Regions from separate parts of the Homo sapiens genome. Here regions 2, 3, 4, 5, 6 and 7 are each linked to region 1. Evidence: promoter capture Hi-C in 16 types of primary human blood cells and fetal thymus (Javierre and others, 2016). All regions are on one chromosome and are shown on one strand. The core of a region is centred on a gene start or on the middle of the fragment in contact, and the rest is flanking DNA. Distances in the headings are between cores, read along the strand shown. Region 1 holds the start of OCLN (occludin). Region 2 holds the start of LOC107984116 (a long non-coding RNA gene). Region 3 overlaps LINC02198 (long intergenic non-protein coding RNA 2198). Region 4 has its middle 17 kb from the start of LINC02198. Region 5 has its middle 19 kb from the start of SLC30A5. Region 6 overlaps SLC30A5 (solute carrier family 30 member 5). Region 7 overlaps SLC30A5 (solute carrier family 30 member 5).

Region 1 (3,202 bases), core at 295-2,794:
GTGCCTGTAATCCCAGCTATTCGGGAGGCTGAGCAGGAGAATCGCTTGAACCCGGGAGGCAGAGGTTGCAGTGAGCCCAGATGATGCCACTGCACTGGGGGACAGAGCCAGACTCCGTCTCGGAAAAACACACACACACACACACACAAGCACCTCATATGTACAGTGCAAAAGAACTACTGTTACTATTGTTACACTTGGGAACGCCTAGTTTTCTATCACACCAAGAATCACCAAAAAACACCATAAGTGCCTTCATGGGAAACGTTTCTCTTTTCCAGGTATCCCAATAATACACCTGTTGCCTAAGGGCCACACACTGACTGGCCTGGAAAGCCGCCGCCTCCTCCTCGAGCAGGGTAATTCCCCAAGCGGGCAGTGTGGCCAGCGAGCCCCGGGTCCGGCCTAAGGATGCCGCGGCTTTTCCCTCGGGCCCGGTGGCTTCCCGAGGAGCGCGAGGGGCTCGGCGCCGCTCCCAACCCCTAGGCGCAGAGGCCATCTTGGCCCTCGACCCCTGCTCCCCGCACGCTTCCTCCGACGCAGGCAACATGGCTGGCGCGCGGGGCCGGCCCAGTCCCGGAGGTCCCCAAACTCCGTGGCCCGGCTGGGCGCGGGTCCCGGCTTCCGTGCGCACCGAGGCGCTCCCAGGCAGCGCGCGCCCACGTTCGCCGGGCAGGCACCGCCCGGAGGCAGTTCCGCCCCCCTGGGGGCAGCCCTTTTGGTCACGGATGAGAATCCGAAGCGTGAGCAGCTTCCCTCGAAGTCCAGCCTCACTCGAAATTAACTCCCCGCCCCCCAGCTTAAATCGACGCGGGTTCACACAACTCGCAACAAGTGGATTCGAAGTAGCCAGTGTGGCCCACACCGTGACTCCTGGAATATTTCACAGATTGAATCCAGCCCCCGTCTCCCCGGGATATCCAAAGGGGTGGGGTGGGAGCGGAAGGAATGAAATTCCCCCCGGGATCTAAGCCGCCCGGGCCGCCGAACAGCCGCCTCGCTGCAGCCTCAGGCTTAGGACCCCCAAGGAGCTGGGCGCAGGATCCCTCTCCATGAAGGCCGCCCCCCCAAACTGCAGCCCCAGAGCGGATGCAGGATCGTCGCTGTTCAGGAATGTCGTGCCCCATAAAAGTGAAAAGTTGCCCGCGCCGCTGAGGCACTGCTAGCTTTCAGCGTTTCCGCGGAATAAAGCTTGATCGGCGGCTCCAAGCCACCCCTCGCCCCAGGAGGCAGCCTCCCAAGTTGGCCGGTGCTGCTCTCTCCGCAGACCCGCGCCTCTCTGGTTCCCACGAGTCCCAGCTCGGGGACGAAACTGCCACCGAAACCAGCGCGGAGCGTCCTCCCCCCGGCACCTCCCCTAACATAGTCGCCGCGGTCCCCCCACGGGGACCCTCGGGCTCCCGTGCGCCCCTGACGCCGCGCCCAACACTCACCCGCTCGCCGCAACTGGGCCCGACCCTCCGGGGGCCAACGGTGCCAGGGAGCGCGCTCACCTGGCGGGCGCACCTGACGCCGCACCGACCGCCAGCGCTCAGCCGGGGACTGGGCTGGGGACGTCTCCTCCCCCTTCTCCCTCTCCTTTCCCTCCTCCCTACAACCGGCCCTGCCCCCGGGCATGCGCACCAACGTGGAAGGGGGTGCGGGAAGCCTGCGGGCCAGCGCCGCGAGTCCCACCTGCTGCGTCCTAGACCGGCTCCTCGGCGCTCTGGACCTGGCTCTCGGTTCCTGCCGCCTCCGCCAGAGGAAGCAGGGAGGGAGAGGTGGACGCGGGAGTGTAGGTGTGGTGTGTCGGCCTCCTCCCTCGGTGACCAATTCACCTGAAACTCGGATGGGAGGGGGCGGGAGGACGCGGTCCTGCTTCCCACACCCTGCCAGCGCGCTGTTAAAGGAACCGCGCGACGTTGCGGCCCGAGAGGCGGGGCGCAGAGGAGAGGCGCGGGCTCCTAGGGGGCAGCACGGATGGGGGTCCCTGACCACCCCGGGGTGCGTTCGGTGCTCCGCCTGCTTCGGATGGAACCTTGGGGTGTCTGATGGAGAGAGGCCGAACGAGGTCCAGAGGGGACTGTTTCCTCCGGAAAGAGGGTCCAGGCACTCAGCACTTTGATAGGAAAGGCACGTCCTCACAGGACACTTTTCTGCTTCCAGAATTTGATTAAACTGTTGCTGGAAAAAGGCATCTAGATGTATTGCTCCAACGAAAGACTCCTGGGAAAATTTCAAAAGTCGTGTGTAAACATTGGCGCTGTTTCTGAATCTCTAGATTCAGAATAAGAGACAATTACTTAGAGGGGTTAAAATGAGGGTGAACTACTGTAGGTGTTAGTTGCCATCCAGCAGGCTAAAGTGCATAATACAGTTTACACATCACCACCCCAGGGTCCTCTCCTGCCCACCCGGTCCGCTCTTGAGGACCGGGAAATTTAAACTATTATGGCTCTTTGGCCTGAGAAAAAGCACCTTATACGTTGTTTACCAACCTGTAGTGCTTTAAGAACAACACTACTTAAAAAGCAAAATAAACTTGGTTTACTTTTTTTTTTTTTTTAAGAAAACGAAAAAGCACCTTAGTTCCGGGTGCTGTATTCTATTTCTTGATCTGGATTCTGTTTCCAAGGGAAATTTCATAGTCTGCACTTAACACTGTGTATATTTTTATGTATGTTGGTTGTTTTTCAACATATTTTTTAATTGTACTCCAGGATGTGGCAATTATAGTTCTTGGCATTTAACTATCTGCATTGAAAGCGAACTTTTAGGTTTCTTACATCCTGCTTGTCTTTGTGTTCCAATCTGGAATGTCAGCATTGCTAATAAATTTCTATCCAATCCCACCCACTTCTCTACCTTTAATTAAATGGTTAGAGATGTGACTCTCCCATACATTAGATCTTAAGGCACAATTCATACTTGAGGAAGTAAAAGCACTATATAAATATGAGGTATTTCAGATGATGGCAGCTTTAATGGGTAATTAATTTAATTGGTATTTTTTTCGTGGAAGTCATTGCTACAAATGCTTTAATATGACTATGTAGTTTTTGAATGATGCAGTTTAAATTGGTATTGTTAACACTGGGGAAGTCAGGTTAATCCCCTTAATGTTCCCTGTCAGATTACTGAAATCTCCAAACATTCCATTTGGTTTATAATTAAACAAGGGAACATTTCCTAATACTCTCAGATTTGTAAACACATGTCTATT
Region 2 (3,202 bases), core at 444-2,943, 490 kb after region 1:
GATAAAAGTATGACATTAGGTACATTTATTTTGGGGCTAGTTGCTAATACCTCTTATTTTCTAGGCAGTGAGGGGGTGGGAGTGGAAGGGAGGGGGTCAAAATTCCTCCATGAAGCCTTTACATCTCCCCTTCTCCTATATCCAAGTCCCACTCTTATAAAAGAATAAAACCTCCATTACTCTAAGTTTATAATTACTGTTTAAAAACACAAAGTTCATTTTTACAGGGATCTTTCCTTAAGGCTGAAGGAGGTTCTAAAGATGAAATTTCCTTCTATGTATGATTCCTTGGGGTGGGAGTCACAGGCATTTTCTTATCCCACTGGAATTCTGAGTCGCATAAGTTTGTTTCTGACTAGTAACTAGGAGCTCAGTGTCTTTGGCCTCTCACACTGACCTTAAGGCAAATGCCTTTGAACCGTCCACTCCAGTCTGTCAATCCTCCTTGAAGAATGGTCCAGCCTGCACTGCTGCTTTTTACCATCAGGGGGCAGTGGGGCCATGAGTGCCCAGGGAGACAGGGAAGGATGCTTAGCACCTGGCGAGTGGGAGGAAGTGTCTCTCAGTGTTTGCACTTAAAGCATCTCAGTAGCTAGATACTTCATTGGTACGAATGGTGTATTTTCTTCTAAATTTTGTGCAATCCAAAAAGGCAGGAAGTTTGATCTTAATGCATTTTCCATGGTCATCTATTTCACTCTGAGCCAAGAATTTATTAGGAAAACGAAAAGAATTGCAAGAATAACTTTAGATTGACATTTCTCCATTTTCCTACTTGTCGAATAGGTTTGGTACGTGTTCTGAAGGAACACGGTGCCAGTTGAAATGGTGCTCTGCTTTCTTCCCTGTTATTCTGAAATAGATGTGCTTTTCACACACATGGATAGACCATTTACTCCTGATTTGTATCTCAGGGACAAATCTGACTTATTAACACCATTATTTGTAAACTGCTAGCCTGGTTTCCTGTGCTGTTGTAACGCTATCTTGATGGGTTGCTGTGAAAATGTGAAGATGTCTGTCAGGCAGGAAAAATTATGTAAAAATGATGTGGGTATAGAAAATGGGATCGACAAAATGTAATAAACTCCTCCTGGGCTGAACAGCAGAGCTGCATATGTAATGAAGTACTTTAGGATTACGTCACCTTTTATATAACATCTGGCAGTGACTTTTATTTCAGAGCTAATTTGGAGAAGCCAGGCACTTTTCTCTTCCCCTCCCCAAGACTGCCTTTATCTGAAAGACGAAAGAAGGAACTGTTACATTTTGCATGCAAAGAAAGCCAGAGTGGCTAGATTACTCCCTTAGGGTAATGGAGAAAGGAAAAAGAAATTGAAAAAGGTCAGGTGAACAAAGCAGAAGGAATGAAGAGGTTTGTGTGATTCTTAGTGAAATTGGACCAGTCTAAGCAACCAGACAGGTAATCTGGGTGACTCTACCCCTCCTTCTTCCCTCCTGTGCCCCTCCCTTGGCTGTGGCTCTATAGGTATGACCCAAGAATACTATGGAAATAGCATTTCCTTAAATATTTTGTCTGAAGTGAAGGGTTGAAAAAATTATTGAGATAATTTGGGAAAATCCTAAAATTTGTCCCTTTAGCCTTTGAGAAAAAGCTCAAAGCTCAAACACCTCTCTCCCCCAGTAATATCCAGACATTGATCTATAACAATAGATTATTCAGATGGTCAACTTGCTGCTTTAATTTGTCTATATAGGAAATGGTGAAAAGTCTTTTATGAAATTGAATGGGAATTCACTCCTTTGAAGCCAGGGACACAGGAGGGATGAAGACCCTCTTTGTACTTCCCCCTTTCCTTCCCTCATAGCTTCTGGGTCTGTGCTTGCCTTGGTGCAACCTGGACCTTGCTGGACCATGTTTGCTGACCTCCATGTTCTCTTTCATCACGTGTTTTTTGAATCTTCCATTATTGTGTCAACCCTGGACATGCTCTTGTCTGAATTTCAAGGCCATGTCTACAGTTCAGAAGAGGTAGTGTCTTCCTTACGTATCTAATGGGTTCCCAAAAATGTGTTTGAAAGTTAGTTGGATGTTTGAAAGTCGAACAATAGATTTGCATGTTGTAAGGAAGAATTTGTTCTCAATTCTAGCTAAAGTATATGATGAAATCCCTAATTATGGTTTCTGCCAGTGCCACCTCCCTCAGGCCTTGGCAACCCTGTGGGTGGGTGAGAACAGGCACATGGCTGGAGTGGGTGGCAACTGCCAGTCGTTGTGGGCTGAGGAAGTTAATCCAGGAATCTCTCCTTCCAAGACTTAGCCCTCCTTCCCTCATCCCAGCCTGAAAGGGCAAGGGCTGGAGTAGAGGGTCTGGTTCTTTTTTTTTTTTTTTTTTTTTTTTTGAGACAGAGTTTTTCTCTGTCACCCATGCTGGAGTGCAGTGGCTTGATCTTGGCTCATGGCAAACTCCGCCTCCTGGGTTCAAGCTATCCTCTTGCCTCAGCCTCCCAAGTACCGAGATTACAGGCTCAAGCCACCATGCCTGGCTAATTTTTTGTATTTTTAGTACAGATGGGGTTTCACCATGTTGGCCAGGCTGACTTACTTCGAACTCCTCACCTCAAGTGATCTGCCTGCCTCAGCCTCCCAAAGTCCTGGGATTACAGGTGTGAGTTACCACACCTGGCTGAGGGTCTGGTTCTTAACCTACCTCCAGGAATAACCACATGTGACACCCATGAGGTGGTGGACATGGCATTGGTGGACATGGGCAGAGTACTGGAGTGGTTGGGGCTGGTCAAATGACACCCTGAGAAATGGTGGTCCTGTGTGAGCTGAGAAACTCCAGGATCCCTGGCCATGATCTCTGGAGTTCTGTCTGGCAGTACTGGCCAATGGAGACTTATCTCTGGCTGGAAAGGAGGTGCTGGAAAATTCTTCTGTTGTCTTAACTTGAACCTGGCCCCTTCTCCTAGTAGCTGTGTCTGCCTGGCATGAGATTGTTCTATCAATAATCTAAGGTAATTCAGGAAAGATTGAATTTTGAGTATTAAAGGTTTGCAGATGCTAGTGTTTAATTTTTGATAGTGTGGTGTCTTGGTTATGTATTGCGGCATAGCATACTACCCCAAAACTTAGTGTCTTAAAACCATATTTTAATTATCTCACAAGTTCCTTGGTCAGGAATTTGCTCAGTGCTTGGTTGGGTGATTCTTCTGCTTCACATGGCATTGACTGGAG
Region 3 (3,202 bases), core at 230-2,729, 460 kb after region 1:
TTTATGCTTTGAAAGTATTAGTATGCAAGGAACTCAGGCAAGAGCATAAAAGAGGAAGTAGGAATAATACTTTATGTTTGAATAGGCTTTAGACTTTCCAAAATACTTACATCCTACTGAAGCTTGGTAGCAAGTATTATCCTTGTTTTATTGATGAAAAACATGCTTCCAAGAAAGATGCATTACAAGCGACAGAAAACTCAAAGTGGATTACACAGTAAAAGGTATCTGTCTCTCTGTCTGTCTCTGTCTCTGTGTTTTGGCTCACAGAATTGAAAAGTTCAGGACTAGAGTGAGCTTTCAATGTGCCTTGAAAGAGATGTTCGATTGATACCATCAGGGCCCAGATTCCCTTGACATCTCTTAGTTCTGTTTTCCTAGTATGTGGTTAACTCTGATTAGCCAGGATGGAGACAATAACTCCTGAGCTAAATATGTGGAGTGGGGCAAGGATGGCCCTCTACAGGCGAAGGTGGGGGTGCATTTTAATATGAGTATGGGGGAAAGGATCAGATCTGGGCTAGATCTGATATTCAAGAGGTGTAAACAGATGACCAACAAGATGTTAACAAGATGACACGATTAGAAAGATTTTAATCAAGCCTAGAACCCAGCTCCTCTGAATCCTGGCAAAACATAGGTAGGAACAAAACTGGGAAACAAGACAAGGGATGTCCCAGGAGCTGATGTTTCAGTAAGAGCATAGTTGAGAAGAGACAGAAGAAAACAATAGTTAACAGAGGTAGGTGGATTTAGAAAGAAGGCTTTACTTTGAACAAGACTTGATCCCAGTTGAGACTTTGCTGAAGGAATCCCTAATAGACAGACCTGAGCCACCTCCTTCCTTTGTCATATATATGTATCTCATAGGCATCTTACAAATATGATGACTGCTCTATAAATAACCGAGAAATCTTAGTTTCTGGATCTTACCCTGGCCCAACTCCAAATTATCTTCTTTGGTTTTAGCTGGATCTTTAGGAAGACTGGTCTGCCTAATTTTGTTGCATCTCATTGTGCCCTATTTGCCAGGCCGCTTTGATAAGGAGATCTTCATATAATTCCTTTCTGTGTTGCTGCCCTGTCTTCCATGTTTAGAGTTCGAATCCTCCTTTTCTAATAGCTGAAACACACCCAGATCAAAATAAGCTTCATTAAGGCGGCATTCTACAAAGACAGTGGTTCTCCAATGGTGGTCCTCAGATTACCTGCATTTTTTTTGATGCCTTGTGGAAATAGAAAAACACCCAAACATCACCTGTTTCTTGAAGTTTGGTGGAACTCATTGAATACAACTCTCTTAGGCCAGATGCCACTTTAGAAATTATGTCATTGATTACATTTTCAACTTTTTTTTTTTTTTTTTTTTTTACAGTGCTTGATCTATTCACATTTTCACCTAATAGGTTTATTTAACTCAGGACTTTATGGGGTTGAGAAAAGCACTTTATTATGAGAAGAATATGTAGGTTATTTAACAGAGTCACCTGCAGCAGTCAATATACAATAAACTATAATGATACACAGTAGTTCTAAGGTCAGCCTTGCTATTCATATTATTTTCCAGGATCACTTCACTGAGGAACTGAACACGAGCATTTAACTTGTGTGACTAGTTATGGCCTGGTCTGGATTTCCTTCTGTAGGTATTGTCTTGTTCTTGTCTCAGCCTTTTCTTGCTTCCAAGGCCTTACTCATAAATTCTAATCTTTGCTTATGCAGTCTTTAAGTATTGTGTTTTCCTCTATTGATTTCATGGAAGGCTTCCCTCTAATGTAGCATACATTGGCCCTGCCTGTGCAAAGCTTCTTTTCTCTCCAACAAGCAGGAGACTTGTGTCTTTAGCTCTTTTTCTGCAAGAGCTGCACTCTCCCGTTCTCTTGTGGCCATGGCAGATGATTTCTCGTCACCTCCTCCCTCTCCGCCAACTTCCTTTCCTCCATCCAATTTCTTTTATGACAGGAGTTCCTCTTGGTTGAAGTTAACATTAAAACAGTTAACTTTGTTTTTTTTTTGAGATGGAGTTTGACTCTTGTTGCCCAGGCTGGAGTGCAATGGTGTGATCTCGGCTCACTGCAACCTCTGCCTCCCGGATTCAAGTGAATCTCCTGCCTCAGCCTCCCAAGTAGCTGGGATTACAGGCATGTGCCACCATGCCTGGCTAATTTTGTATTTTAAGTAGAGACAGGGTTTCTCCATGTTGGTCAGGCTGGTCTCGAACTCCTGACCTCAGGTGATCCGCCCGCCTCGGCCTCCCAAAGTGCTGGGATTATAGGCGTGAACCATCATGCCTGGCCAACAGTTAACTTTTAACTGAAGCTGAAGTTAAAACAGTTTCTTCATAGGCAGACATATGAATGCTATAATTTTCTTTTGATAATATCTAATGTGCTCTCTCCTCATATCACCAAGCAGTAATTTTGAATCTTATTGTTTTGTCCTTTGTGCCAGGGTTCTCAAGATGTCTTACATGAAAAAAGCTCTGTGGCACATTACATTTGGGAGCTGCTGATTAAAGACATATAAGCTCTTTTGCTGACCATTTTTCCAGAACCTTGACTGGAATGTTAATATCCATTGTAAATCTCTAAGTGGGTACCAGTGTTCTGCAAAGCACTCTGGGAAATGTTTCCCTTTCCTTTATCTTTTTTAGCCAGTCCCAATGTATTATAACTTGAGTGAAACAGAGCTGTCCTATACGCCACTCTCAGCATACTGAGACATCCAAAGGAAATCCAAGTCTGGCTGAAAAAATCACCCACCTTGAAAAACAACGTATGTTGATCAAGACAGATGCCTCTTGGAGAGGGAGCCAAAGGATAACTGCACCACCCGGGATCATCTTTATAGATCTCTCTTCCTGAAGGCCACCTCAGCACCCTAGCTGCTTCTCAATGTCTCTCTGCAGCCTCTTTTCTGTAAACTCTAGCCCTTTGATTTTTCCTCTCACCTCCGAGGTCTATTATATTCTTTCCAGATGAGCTCCATACTCTTTCTCATGAGTAAATTAATTTGACCTTTCTTGGGCTCTTCCAGCTTTTCATTTTACCCAACACTGAGATCATTGCAACAGTTTCCAGAAGTTAGACAGAGCAAAGTCTTTTCTCTGATTCTTCCTCAGAAGGCATGGGAGGGCCAGAAGGTCACTCTAGGGGCTTTGGAAGGAGCATATACAACACCCCTCTTTCCTGGGTAATGAAAC
Region 4 (3,202 bases), core at 234-2,733, 450 kb after region 1:
GGAAGGGTGGGCAATGGAACCTGAATGACTTAGGGATGGAAGCAGGTTTTTAGCCTTTACTAAAAATTCAGTATACATTTTGCTTATTTCCTGCCTCTAGCAGATCTGCTGAATAACTCTTCCTTTTCAGAAATGCTGGCTTTACTTCTTTGCATGAATCTGGATTTTGAGAGCACCGAGGCTAGTTTATTTTCAACATAATATATGTTGGTTTGCTCTGTGTTAAACATTCTGAGTAGTTCATAACTAATTCTTTTAACTGAATTATTTTTTTGAATGTGCTTTTCTTACTTATGCACCCCTCACACTTCTGTTTTTATCACAACTCGATTTGAGTGGAAACTTTTGAGAATTTCTGTAGTTATCTTTTGATATGTCTTTCTATTTAAAAGGGAACCAAAACATTTATCTTAATTTTTACAAGTCATTAAAATTTATCTAGCTAAGTCCTCCGTGATTACAAGTTAAAATGGCTGAGTTTTATATCTCCAATGCTTAGCACAATGAAAGCTTGGCATGTAGTAGGCACTCAGTGAAAGCCTGGTGGACGTCTCATAGTAAAAGACAGAACAGGGAAAATGTCAGACAACAGCTTGCCTGTCCACAGGCCATATTAAAATGTTTATGTCCAGAGCCTTTTGTTGAGGGAAATGGACACTTCTACAGCCTCTTGCATTTGTTGACTGTATCTCTGGAGAGCCCAGCTCTGCTTCCATTACCAATTCCTGCCTCTTGTCTTTTATTGATCACCAGTGCAAATTCTTGACAGAGAAAACCTGATTGAGTTAGCAAGTAACTATAGGCTTCCTCACAGGCCTCCAGCCCAGTGGTTCTCAAATGTGAGCATAGAATCCCCTGGAAGTCTTATTATCCTTATCCATAGGTGGCCACATCCACAACCACATCACATATTCCCCGGCCTACAGCTGATGGACATCTTACCCAAGGACCGTTCACCTACAGGCTAGAGCAGTGGTTTTCAAAGTGTGGTCTCAAGATCAGAAACATCAGCATCACCTGGAAATGTATAGCAATATGGGTGATCGGACTCTGCTGGAGATCTGCCGAATTAGAACTTCTGAGGGTAGTGCATAGCAATCTGTGTGTTTTTTCTTTCTTTCTTTCTTTTTTTTTTGAGACAGAGAATCACTCTGTCATCCAGGCTGGAGTGCTGCCATGGTGCAATCTCGGCCCACTGCAACCTGTGCCTCCCAGGTTCAAGCGATTCTCCTGATCAGCCTCCTGAGTAGCTGGGATTATAGGTGCGCACCACCATGCCTGGCTAATTTTTGTATTTTTAGTAAAGATGGGATTTCACCATCTTGGTCAGGCTGGTCTCGAGACCTCAAGTGATCTGCCTGCCTTGGCCTCCCAAAGTGCTGGAATTACAGGCGTGAGCCACCACTCCCGTTGGCAATCTGTGTTTTAAGAAGCCTTCCAGGTGATTCCATGCTCACATTTGAGACCCACTGGGCTGGAGGCCTGTGAGGAAGCCTATAGTTACTTGCTAACTCAATCAGGTTTTCTCTCTCAAGAATTTGTACTGGTGATCAATAAAGGACAAGAGGCAGACAATTGATAACGGAAGCAGATCTGGGCTCTCCAGAGATGCAGTACACAAATGCAAGAGGCTGTAAAAGCCACGGACTAGCAGAAGTTATGTTAGTTGTGAGGTAGAGAAAAGATACTCAAAGTTGATATTAAAGAGGTTGGTAGCAGTGGAGCTGGAGGAGCAGAGAAAGAAAGTTGCTGAGTCACCATGATGGTGGGTCAATGAACACAGCAGCTGAAGAGTCAGCATGGTGACCTGGGTTTATTTGTTGCTACGGCAGCATTGCACCTTCCAGTTCTGGGAACGGCGTCCAGAACTGCGAGAGAATAGATTTCCATTGTTTCTCTTCAGCCTATGATATTTTGCTATGGCAGCCTGAGCTAGGGCATACTTTAGGTGGTATAATCTCATAGAAGCCTAGTCAGGTTTTTTTTTTTTTTGTGATTGTTATTTGTTTTAAATCTGACTGAAAATTTTCTTGAAGCAAGTATAGGCTCAAGTTGATTATTATTATTTTGCTTTAGAAACCAAAAACTTGTATGCATTTTTTTTTTTTTTTTTTGAGATAGAGTTTCACTCTTGTTGCCCAGGCTGGAGTGCAGTGTGGCATGATCTTGGCTCACCGAAACCTCTGTCTCCCGGGTCAAGCAACCTCTGTCTCCTGGGTTCAAGTGATTCTCCTGCCTTAGGCCTCCCTGGGATTGCAGGCATGTGCCACTAGGCCTGACTAATTTTGTATTTTTAGTAGAGACGGGGTTTTACCATGTTGGCCAGGCTGGTCTCAAACTCCTGACCTCAAGTGATCTGCTCACCTCGGCCTCCCAAAGTGCTGGGATTACAGGCATGAGCCACTGCGCTTGTATGCTCTCTTGAGCAGCTCTTTCATCAGCTTTAGAAAGCTTCTCCTTTGTCCTGGTGGGAGGCAAACCACATCTATGTTTAAGATGCTTGAGTTACAGAGACACTGGTGTGCCTCATCCTTAGGGTTGAAACTGCCTTTGCAAAATTATGACAGACAGTGAAAGAGATCTAACTGGCTCTATCTTGGTTCTAACCTTTAAGCTGTCCTTTCTCCCTCCTGGGCATAGGCCGAACTAACTTTGGGAGGAACTTATAGTTTAAAACAAAGACAATAATAGCCCTTTCCCAAAACAAAACTCTTTCTTGTGTGGGGACTAGACTGCCTCTGTAGGACTAAGAAATTAGCCACAAGATTAGAAATTATGGTTTTGGAGTCATGCAGCTGGAGGCTACAAGATTCTGATCCTCCCTCAACTGATCCTAAGATCAGTGCTTGAGACATTTTGCAGACCCGCACTTGATGGATCAGCTGGAACCACCGAGATCGATAAACTGGCTCATCTGATCTTGTGGCCCCCACCCAGGAACTGACTCAGCGCAAGAGGACAGCTTCAGTTCCCTATGATTTCATCTCCTACCTAACCAATCAGCACTCCTGGCTCACTGGCTTCCCGCAACTCACTAAGTTGTCCTTAAAAACTCTGATACCTGAATGCTCAGGGCGACTGATTTGAGTAATAATAAAACTCTGGTGTCCTGCACAGCCAGCTCTGTGTGAATTACTCTTTCTCTACTGCAATTCCCCTGTCTTGATAAATTCGCTCTGTCTAGGCAGCGGGAAAGGTGAAC
Region 5 (3,202 bases), core at 401-2,900, 420 kb after region 1:
GGCAAGAAGCAAGGAGGAGGCTCTCAGTAGAGGCAAAGGGAGAAGAGAGGCGGAGCCTACAGTGTCCTTTTAAATCTGGCCGCACCCCGACTTCGGACCCCACCTGCAGCTTGGTCTCACCATCTCCCCGTCCCTCTTTGCATCCTCTCTTCCAGCCCTGAGGCTGGTCTTGCCACTGCCCAGACATTTCAAGTTGTACATTTTCCTTGCCGCCTCCACAGCCTTTCATCTAGGGTCCCTCCCTCTTTTCTGTCCAAAGTCCTTCCCATTCTTTAAGTAAGTTGGAGCACCAGATAAATCCAGGCACTAGAGATGGCGTGTGTGTGTGTGTGTGTGTGTGTGAGAGAGAGAGAGACAGAGAGAGACAGAGAGGAGAGAGGACAGGTATTTAGGGGGCTGGGGTGAGGCTGCACAGGAAGCCGAGGGGGTCAGAGGAAGGGAGAAGGCGGGGGGTCAGAGGAAGGGAGAGGGCGTAGGAGGAGGAGTGTGTGGTGTGGCCCCAGGAGCACCCTTAGACCACTGTGCTGAGGGTGGAGTCATCCTCTGGGTGCACTGGCAACAGGGGCCGCTTGAGGGTGCGCCAGGTTTCATCTCGGTTCTACCATACATAATGCACCAGGTCAGCCACCCCTCAACGGCAGGGGCCACCTTGGTGCTCCTCTGGGCCCTGCCCCGACCCACACAGCTCTTCCTCCCCTGCCAGCGGCAGGAGCTCCTGCCCCACCGAGGTCTGGTCGGGTTCTGGGGTCACACACGATGCCTGTCCTGGTGCCCGGCGCCAGCCTCACCAGCCTGAGCACTCCCTGGAGGGCACAGTCCCAGTTTCACGGGTTGGCGGATTGGTTCACTTGGATCTGCAGCCCCACGAAGGCCTCCACGGGCACCCAGGCCAGCTTTTCAGAGAGGTGGAGGTGGTGCACCATGCACGCCAGGGCCGAGAAGGCTGCCCCTAAGAGGCGGGTGAAGATATTAGGGGACAGGTGCAGCTCCTCCAGGACAGGCGGGTGCTGGAAGGCACCGCGGGCACTGACGCCAGCTGGTTGGCATCCAGGCCTGTGGGTGTAGCTGGGATGCGGCGGGGCAACAGAGCTTAGGCCTGCCTGGCTGCAGCCAAGCGTCAGTTCACCGGCTTCCTCTGCCACATGGCAGCCCTGTGGAGGTGCCCGGGGGCTGGGCACGGTACCCCGGTGCCTGTCACCAGCGGGAGGGATGGGAGGTGACAGGCTGCTGGTGGGAGGATGGCCACAGATGGGCAGGGTCCCGGAGTGGAGTAGGACCCCTGTAGGCGGCAGGGCCTTCTCCTGTGCTGCTGCCCTCTCCCGGAAAGTAGCCTCCCTGCTGCTGGGCTCTGGAGATCCACTGCCTCCTTCACAAGTCCTGTTTGCTCCTGGCTGCTGGAAGTTGCCGGCTGGGGCCGAACAGTGTTGGGTTTTCTGGCATGTGGTTCCGGGCCCAGGTGTGGAATACCTGAGCCATGGCTTGGCCAGTCAATGCCAAGAGAGGGCAGATCCTGGACCTGGATGAAATCTGCCATGGGGAAACCAGGCCCCAATTCCAATTCCTGCCTCTGGCTCCCTTCCCAAAGCCTCGGCACTGCCATCTTCCTTCACCCTTCGAGTTTGGGACTTCCTCCCAGAACCCCTCTTCCTTGCCCAGAGCCTGGCTGGGCAGAAGGATCCCGGCTTGGCAGGCCTGAGGTGCAAAATAGGGTGGGGCCCATCTCACATCCACTGCCTGGCAGCAACCTGTATCCCCCACCTCCATCCATCCCTCTGCTGTCCTTGGCCTTTCTAGCATGCCCTGTGGCACTTTCTTCCATGGTGAGTGGACTTCCCTTGTCCTTTTCCTTGGAAAACATGTCTCTCTTCATGGGACCTCATTTCCTGGCTTCTCACAGTACTCAGCCCCTTTCTATTCTTCATCCTAATGTAAACATGTATGACGAAAAGACTTGAGGAACTAGACTTTTCAAGCTCCTTCTGGCTCTTTAATACTAAAATTTCATATGTAATTAAAAAATAGAACCCAAGGGCTGGGCGTGGTGACTCACTCCTGTAATCCCAGCACTTTGGGAGGCTGAGGCAGGCGGATCACGAGGACAGGAGTTCGAGACCAGCCTGGCCAAGAGGCCAGCCTGGCCAATATGGTGAAACCCTGTCTCTACTAAAAATACAAAAATTAGCTGGGCATGGTGGCGTGTGCCTGTAGTCCCAGCTATCCAGGAGGCTGAGGCAGGAGAATCGCTTGAACCCAAGAGGCAGAGGTTGCAGTGAGCTGAGATCTCACCACTGCACTCCAGCCTGGGCAACAGAGCAAGACTCCATCTCAAAAAAAAAAAAAAGAAAAAAAAATTGAACCTAAGATTCATAGGCCTTAGTATATTTAGTGAATAGCTCTTATTTACCTTTATAAGTTCTCTTTGTGCCTGACTTATTTCTCATTACCTTCATGCTCTTATTGTATTCTGATCTTGAATTAAATAGATGCCGGGGATTTATAAAATAGAGTTATAAGAAATATTTTACAGCTATTAAAGTGGGCATAATTAAAAACCTTAATGCAGTTTCAAGAATACTGTAGAGAACTCCTATGTTCCCTCCACCTGATTCCCTAATCGTTAGTAACGTACCATATCTGCCTTATTATTCTTTTTCTCTCTGTATAGATAAAGATTATTTCTTTTTCCAGAACCATCTGAGAATAAGTTACAGACATGATGCCAATCACCCCTAAATACTTTAGTGTCTGTTTCATAAAAATAAGGATACTCTTCTATGTAATCACAGAATGCCCATGAAAATCAGGAAATTATCATTGATACCATAGCACCTTCTTTTTTTTTTTTTTTTTTTAGATGGAGTTTCACTCTTGTTGCCCAGGCTGGAGTGCAATGGCACGATCTCAGCTCACTGCAACCTCCTTCTCCCAGGTTCAAGCAATTCTCCTGCCTCAGCCTCCCAAGTAGCTGGGATTACAGGTGCCTGCCACCATGCCTGGCTAATTTTTTGTATTTTTAGTAGAGACTGGGTTTCACCATGTTGGCCAGGCTGGTCTCAAACTTCTGACCTCAGGTGATCCACCTGCCTCGGCCTGCCAAAGTGCTGGGATTACAGGCATGAGCCACCGTGCTCGGCCACCATAGCACCTTCTAATCCACAAACTTCATTCAAATTTTACTGATTTTTCCCAATAAAGTTATTTA
Region 6 (3,202 bases), core at 476-2,975, 390 kb after region 1:
TAGCTTTCTCAGCCCTCCAAGCTGCAGCTGCTACTGTGGCTAGAGATATGACATTTCCAATTATACCTACTCTGCATCTGACAAAGTACATGACAAACAAGTCAAAGGGATCCCAATCCAGAAGCTATTCTATTGGCCATGAGAGGGGAAAGGACTTTTCACAAAGCATTTCCACATTTCTCACCCTTCACTTTCCACTCTGTCTACCCCACTATTCTGAGTGAGATCCTTTAGAACAGTGGTCCCCAACCTTTTTGGCACCAGGGTCTGGTTTCCTGGAAGACAATTTTTCCAGACAGCAGTGGTGGGGGGATGTTTTAGGACATAACTGTTCCACCTCAGATCATCAGACATTAGATTCTCATAAGGAGCATGCAACCTAGATATCCCTCCCATGCACAGTTCACAACAGGGTTCCTGCTCCCATGAGAATCTAATGCCATTGCTGATCTGACAGGAGGTAGAGCTCACGCAGTAATGCTTGCTCCCCCGTGGCTCACCTCCTGCTCTGTGGCCTGGTTCCTAATGAGTTATGAACCCATACTGGTCTATAGCCAGGGGGTGGGGGATCTCTCTGCTTTAGAACATTCTTTTTTTTTTTGAGACGGAGTCTCGCTCTGTTGCCCAGCCTGCAGTGCAGTGGCGTGATCTCGGCTCACTGCAACCTTCGCCTCCTGAGTTCAAGTGATTTCTGGCTAATTTTTGTATATTTTTTAATAAAGGCGGGGTTTTGCTATGTTGGCTAGGGTGGTCTCCAACTCGTAACTTCAAATGATCCACCCCTTGGCCTCCCAAAGTGCTAGCATTACAGGCGTGAGCCACAGTGCTGGCCAAGAACATTCTTCATTTCACTCCTTACCTCTCATTCTCACGGCAAGGCATTTTTTCTTACACTTATTCACTAAGTAAAATCCTTTACAGATGGGGAAATGTTAAAAGAATGCTCATACACAGCTGCATGATACAATTCCTATCAATGGTCCCTAAGCATTTCCTCCTTAAACCAGTCCACTTGCAGAAAAAGACTAATCTATATAGATCTAGGGAAATATGAAATGGGAGTAGTTTACTTTATCCACCACGCATTTAATCTGATAATTGATATACTACTTCTGAGACATTTATTTATGAGAGTATTTGCAAAATTGTGCAAAAAATGAGTGCTTTTAGAGATTTTTGTTCTCCTTCTTATTGGCTAATTTTATTTACCACTTCAGACCTTTTATTATAGCTTCTAAGCTGTTAACAGGGATCATGAATAAATGATTAAAAAGCCGTTTATGCTAAAAATTTTCTGAAACTTGGAATTCTAACTAGTAAAATATCTATGACAAATCATGAATAAATATATTAATGGTATTCACTAAAGAACTAGTCCAGAAACTAAACAGGTTTGTTCTATCTGTTGAATTCTCTCTGATGCTATAAAAGTGCTAGACACATTTGTACAGATAAATATTTGACGTAAAACACAGTGGAACAAAAATAATATTCAAAATGAAGAAATACAAACACACATTCAAAATATGCATTTTTATTTACCTTAGTGGTCCACAAAGAGTGAGGCCAAAAAACCACAAGAGTGAAATAATACACCCAGCAACTGCATGTTTAAATATTTTGATCCACTATAAATGGAAACAAAAAAATTAAAAATTTCAGTCACATATATTTTGCTATATATCCAAATTTTAAATAAAATACAGAAAGATAATAATAACAAATATTTTAAAGGTGAAATCATTACATATTTTGTAAATAGAAAACATAAGATCCCTTGACTAAGTCTAGATTTCCAAGACAGTATTCTTATTCTGGGCCGGGTGCTGTGGCTCATGCCTGTAATCCTAGCACTTTGTGAGGCCGAGGCAGGCAGATCACCTGAGGTCAGGAGTTCAAGACCAGGCTGGCCAATGTGGTGAATGAAGCCCCGTCTCTACTAAAAATACAAAAATGAGCTGGGTGTGGTGGTGGGTGCCTGTAATTCCAGCTACTCAGGAGGCTGAGGCAGGAGAATCGCTTGAACCCGGGAGGCAGAGGTTGCAGTGAGACAAGATCGTGTCACTGCACTGCAGCCTGGGCGATGGAGCAAGACTCTTTCTCAAAAAAAGAAAGAAAAAAAAAAAGGACAGTATTCTGTTTTCCATTATCTATATTCTTGTCTGCTGGTAGATTTTGAAATCTTTTTCTTCAGAGTACAATTTTATGATTTCTCAGTTTCCCACTAGTTTCCTAGGATCATTTAACTTTTTGTCTTTAAATTCTTTTCTACCAGGAATTTTTAGTGATCCAATTATCTGAAAGGAGAGAAAAAAGTTAAAATGGGGTTTAGACTATTAATCATATTTTAAAAAATGTTCTTGGTCTCTGAAACAGAAGTACTTAAATTCGTCTTTCTAATAAAAAAATTATGACGCAGGTTTGTAAGTCATGGCATAAAGCAAACATGTACTATGGTATAACTGCTGCCCAAAGAAGTGACGATGTGAGATGATTATGCAAAATGTAGGACATTTCTAGTTTGAATCACAGCTGCCTAAAGAGAACAGTGACAATGATCATGAGGGTGTCACATTGTCACAATGATGATGAGGCATCATTCTAAGAACTTCATAAGTATTAATTCATTTTTCCTCACAGTTCTGTTAGGAAGTTACTGTTATCTCCATTTTACAGTGAGCAAATTAAGGTAGAGAGAAATCAAGTAACTTGCCCAAAGTAAGGGTCAGTAAGGAGGACAGACAGAACATGACTTTGTCTGACTCCAGAAATCACACTCTTAACCCCTATGCTTTGTCAGCTTTCCAGTGACATTTGTACTAGGCTCTTGGGCATGCTTTCATGTCCAATTTGTAAATCTTTCAGAATAAGAAGTGTGTACTGAAGAAAACAATTACATGAATGCTTTATAATTTTTTTTACCCTCTTGTTTTTTTTAAAAACATTCCATGATCTTAGTACTTTATGATTTAAAGTCTCCATTCTGAAAAGACAAGAGCAAGTTAACTCTAAAATTGTTCTGTGGCATACTTAAATCATTCATTAAGTACCCATTATAAAAAATAAGCATTGCCTCCTGGCCCACTAAACGAGAAGCTGCTAGGAATAAAAGATTCTGCAAAAATCTTACCTGGTGTTTGGTAATAGTTTTCCCAGAAGAAAATGGCTTTTGAAACAAAACCATAAAAAATGCAGTCCTGTA
Region 7 (3,202 bases), core at 456-2,955, 360 kb after region 1:
ATGCACCTGTAGTCCCAGCTACGATAGGGAGGCTGAGGTGGGAGGATCACTTGAGCCCAAGAGTTCAAGGCTGCAGTGAGCCATAATGATGCCACTGTACTCCAGCCTGGCAACAGAGCAAGACCCAACTCATAAAATAAAAGTAACCTCCACATTCTGAAGTTTGCTATTTGCTTGTGGCATCAAATCTCTCTAATCTCTCAGTTACTTATGTCTTCTCTTCCCTACTGTAACAAGCATATTGAAGGTAGGGTTTGTATCTGATTCATCTTTCAAGTTTACAAATAAGGGGCCATGAATATGTTACTTAGTTCAAGTCACCATCCTCTCTCATTTCAGCTTCAGCAAAAGCCTTCCAACTGTCCCCTAGATTCCACTCTTGCTCTCCTACCCTGATTCTTTTGAAACACATTGGCTCAAGTCAGTACCTTATTTGGAGCCATCCACAGACTTTCCAAGTTCTCAACATGCTGTCTGTCTAAGTTTGCTGCGATCACCGGCCTCTTGCTTCTTTTTTTTTTAATCATGCTAAGCACCTCCTGTCTCAAATGTCCTTGCATTTCATTTGATGTTCTCTCAGTCTAGAATAGTAGCTGTTAGTAGAAGATGGTTTAGAATCCTGGAGATTGTTTGCCTCCTGACTTCAATGCAGTGCTGAAGTCTTCTTCCATAGAAATCCTCTTCAACCACTCTCTGGCACCTCTATAACTCTGTCCTTGAACGCTGCTTTAGTTGAGTCTCAACCCTGAATCCAGAGTGCCTAGTTGAGAAAATTGGCTTTCCCACTTATAACGTGTATGATTTGGGGCAGGTTAATTAACCTTTTCCTGCCTCAGTTTCTGCATCAGTAAAATGGAAATAATAATTACACATATTTATTGTTTAGAACAGTGTCCATCTGGAACATGGCAAAAGTTCAGTAAGTTATTGCTTTTCTTCACAGCACTTACTACATTTTATTACATACTGGTCTTGTCTTCTACATTAGAAGTAAGCTCCATTAGGGCAGGACTTTGTATTACTGAGGACTTTATCCCTAGCTCCTAGTGCAGTGTATTTAGTATAAAGGCCTTCAGTATTTGTTATGAGTTAATTTACTGAATGTTTAAAACGCCATAAATTGCTATAACAGAAGAAAAGAATTATAATTAAAAATAAAACACAGGCCGGGCACGGTGGCTGATGCCTGTAATCCCACACTTTGGGAGGCCGAGGTGGGCGGATGGATCACAAGGTCGAGGTCGAGACCATCCTGGCCAACATGGTGAAACTCTGTCTCTACTAAAAAAAAAATACAAAAATTAGCTGGGCGTAGTGGCGTGCACCTGTAGTCCCAGCTACTCAGGAGGCTGAGGCAGGAGAATCGTTTGAACCCAGGAGGTGGAGGTTACAGTGAGCCAGATTGCACCACTGCACTCAAGCCTGGCGACAGAGCGAGACTCTAAAAACTAATAAATAAAAACATAAATAAAACACAAAAAGCCATAAATGATTGTATTATTTTCTTTCTTTTTTTTTTTTTTTTGAGACGGAGTCTCACTCTGTCACCCAGGCTGGAGTGCAGTGGCACGATCTCGGCTCACTGCAACCTCCGCCTCCCGGGTTCACACCATTCTCCTGCCTCAGCCTCCCGAGGAGCTGGGACTACAGGCGCCCGCCACCACGCCCCGCTAATTTTTTGTATTTTTAGTAGAGATGGGGTTTCACCGTGTTAGCCAGGATGGCTATAATCCTCATACTTTGGGAAGAAGAGGTGGGAGGATCACTTGAGCCCAGGAGTTCCGAGACTTGCATGGGCAACATGGTGAGACCCTGTCTCTACAAACAATAAATTAGCTGGGCATGGTAATGTGCACCTGCAGTCCTACCTACTGGAGAGGCTGAGGTGGGAGGATTGCTTGAGCTCAGGAGTTCAAGGCTGCAGTGAGCAATGATCATGTCATTGCACTCCAGCCTGGGCAACAGAGTGAGACCTTGTCTCTGAAAAAAAAATCCAAACTCCCCTCCCTCAAAACAGGCTTCTATTTTGGGCATTATTTTTAACTTATTTATATGTTAAACATCTAATTAATCTCTTGAGATGCTAATTTATAGAAAAAAAGAGACAAGTTAATGACGGCTACCTTTGAAGTCAGGCTTAAAAAGTAACAATTCTTCGTATTTAGCCTTTTTCTTTTTTGTTTTTGAGATGGAGTCTTGCTCTGTCACCCAGGCTAGAGTGCAGTGGTGCTATCTCGGCTGCCTGCCAGCTCCGCCTCCCAGGTTAACGCCATTCTCCTGCCTTAGCCTGCCGAGTAGCTGGGACTACAGGCGCCTGCCACCACATCTGGCTAATTTTTTGCATTTTTAGTAGAGACAGGGTTTCACCATGTTAGCCAGGATGGTCTCGATCTCCTGACCTCGTGATCCGCCCACCTCGGCCTCCCAAAGTGCTGGGATTACAGGCGTGAGCCACCGCACCCGGCCTATTTAGCCTTTTTCAACTTCCACTGCATTTTCACATACATTATACCTTTTGTTCCCATATCCTGTGCTGTAAATTTGAGCAGGTTTTATATAGTTTATATATGAGGAAAAAAAAAAGATACCTCAGAAAGGCTGATTTGCCTAAAGTTGCATGAATTTTTTTTTTTTTTTTGAGATAAAATCTTTCTGTGTCACCCAGGCTGGAGAGCAGTGGTGCCATCATGGCTCACTGCAGCCTTGGCCTCCTAGGTTCAAGCAATCCTCCTGCCTCAGCCTCCCAAGAGGTATGTGCCACCATGCCCCAGCTAATTTTTAAAAATTTTTGTAGAGATGGAATCTTGCTATGTTGCTCAGGCTGTTCTCAAACTCCTGGGCTCAAGCTATCCTTTTGCTTTAGCCTCCCAAAGTGCCAGGATTTCAGGCAAGAGACACTGCACCTGGCCTAGTTGCATGATTTGCATGAGCTGAAATACAGTACCCTGGTGCTTTCAATATTAGAGTTTCCATACTTTATAATTGTACCTCCCCAACCTTCAGCCCCTGCTCTCTCTCACTCTAATATCTCACAATCACATTAATTTTTTTGCTGTTTATATGTCTTCTAAGGGAAATGACAATTTTAACTTTGGTGTAATATTTATTGCACCTATCTACTTAATTTTTTAATGTATAAAAATTGCATTAAAACATCAATATGCAATTATTTTCCCACCACTCAAAAATTTTAATATGTATT

The links. Contacts are between HindIII fragments. The CHiCAGO score rates a contact against its expected background, and 5 or more counts as called.
Region 2: a contact is called between a fragment that was not itself captured here and the fragment with the promoter of OCLN in region 1, in 4 of 17 cell types (total CD8 T cells, naive CD8 T cells, neutrophils and 1 more). The highest score is 7.4, in total CD8 T cells.
Region 3: a fragment that was not itself captured here is called in contact with the fragment with the promoter of OCLN in region 1 in 6 of 17 cell types (erythroblasts, total CD8 T cells, monocytes and 3 more); the score reaches 9.9 in erythroblasts.
Region 4: a fragment that was not itself captured here is called in contact with the fragment with the promoter of OCLN in region 1 in 2 of 17 cell types (erythroblasts and M2 macrophages); the score reaches 7.8 in erythroblasts.
Region 5: a contact is called between a fragment that was not itself captured here and the fragment with the promoter of OCLN in region 1, in 9 of 17 cell types (total CD4 T cells, neutrophils, M2 macrophages and 6 more). The highest score is 7.6, in total CD4 T cells.
Region 6: a contact is called between a fragment that was not itself captured here and the fragment with the promoter of OCLN in region 1, in 1 of 17 cell types (monocytes). The highest score is 5.7, in monocytes.
Region 7: a contact is called between a fragment that was not itself captured here and the fragment with the promoter of OCLN in region 1, in 5 of 17 cell types (erythroblasts, neutrophils, total CD4 T cells and 2 more). The highest score is 5.8, in erythroblasts.

What each region holds. Positions count from the first base shown.
Region 1 is chr5:69,491,132-69,494,333 of GRCh38, reverse strand. OCLN (occludin) reads right to left here and starts at 1,544. Exons shown (of 9, transcript NM_001205254.2): 1 at 1,434-1,544. The HindIII fragment of the contact is 10,406 bases long and covers 1,194-3,202 here.
Region 2 is chr5:69,005,248-69,008,449 of GRCh38, reverse strand. All of the region lies in intron 1 of LINC02198 (long intergenic non-protein coding RNA 2198), which reads left to right. It overlaps LOC107984116 (a long non-coding RNA gene), which reads left to right and starts at 1,265. Exons shown (of 3, transcript XR_001742709.2): 1 at 1,265-1,423. The HindIII fragment of the contact is 3,932 bases long and covers 1-3,202 here.
Region 3 is chr5:69,026,361-69,029,562 of GRCh38, reverse strand. The region is part of intron 1 of LINC02198 (long intergenic non-protein coding RNA 2198); the gene reads left to right. Among named protein-coding and RNA genes, the nearest start is that of LINC02198, 2.0 kb to the left of the region's middle. The HindIII fragment of the contact is 656 bases long and covers 1,152-1,807 here.
Region 4 is chr5:69,045,113-69,048,314 of GRCh38, reverse strand. No RefSeq gene overlaps it. Among named protein-coding and RNA genes, the nearest start is that of LINC02198, 17 kb to the right of the region's middle. RefSeq lists a cis regulatory region at 1,748-1,758 and an enhancer at 1,681-1,825. The HindIII fragment of the contact is 1,941 bases long and covers 513-2,453 here.
Region 5 is chr5:69,072,990-69,076,191 of GRCh38, reverse strand. It overlaps the pseudogene LOC100130639. Among named protein-coding and RNA genes, the nearest start is that of SLC30A5, 19 kb to the left of the region's middle. RefSeq lists a silencer at 976-1,144. The HindIII fragment of the contact is 6,468 bases long and covers 1-3,202 here.
Region 6 is chr5:69,103,057-69,106,258 of GRCh38, reverse strand. It overlaps SLC30A5 (solute carrier family 30 member 5), which reads right to left. Exons shown (of 16, transcript NM_022902.5): 3 at 3,131-3,197; 4 at 1,543-1,628. Among named protein-coding and RNA genes, the nearest start is that of SLC30A5, 11 kb to the right of the region's middle. The HindIII fragment of the contact is 4,406 bases long and covers 1-3,202 here.
Region 7 is chr5:69,131,037-69,134,238 of GRCh38, reverse strand. SLC30A5 (solute carrier family 30 member 5) reads right to left here. Exons shown (of 16, transcript NM_022902.5): 16 at 3,170-3,202. Among named protein-coding and RNA genes, the nearest start is that of SNORA50D, 28 kb to the left of the region's middle. The HindIII fragment of the contact is 4,208 bases long and covers 1-3,202 here.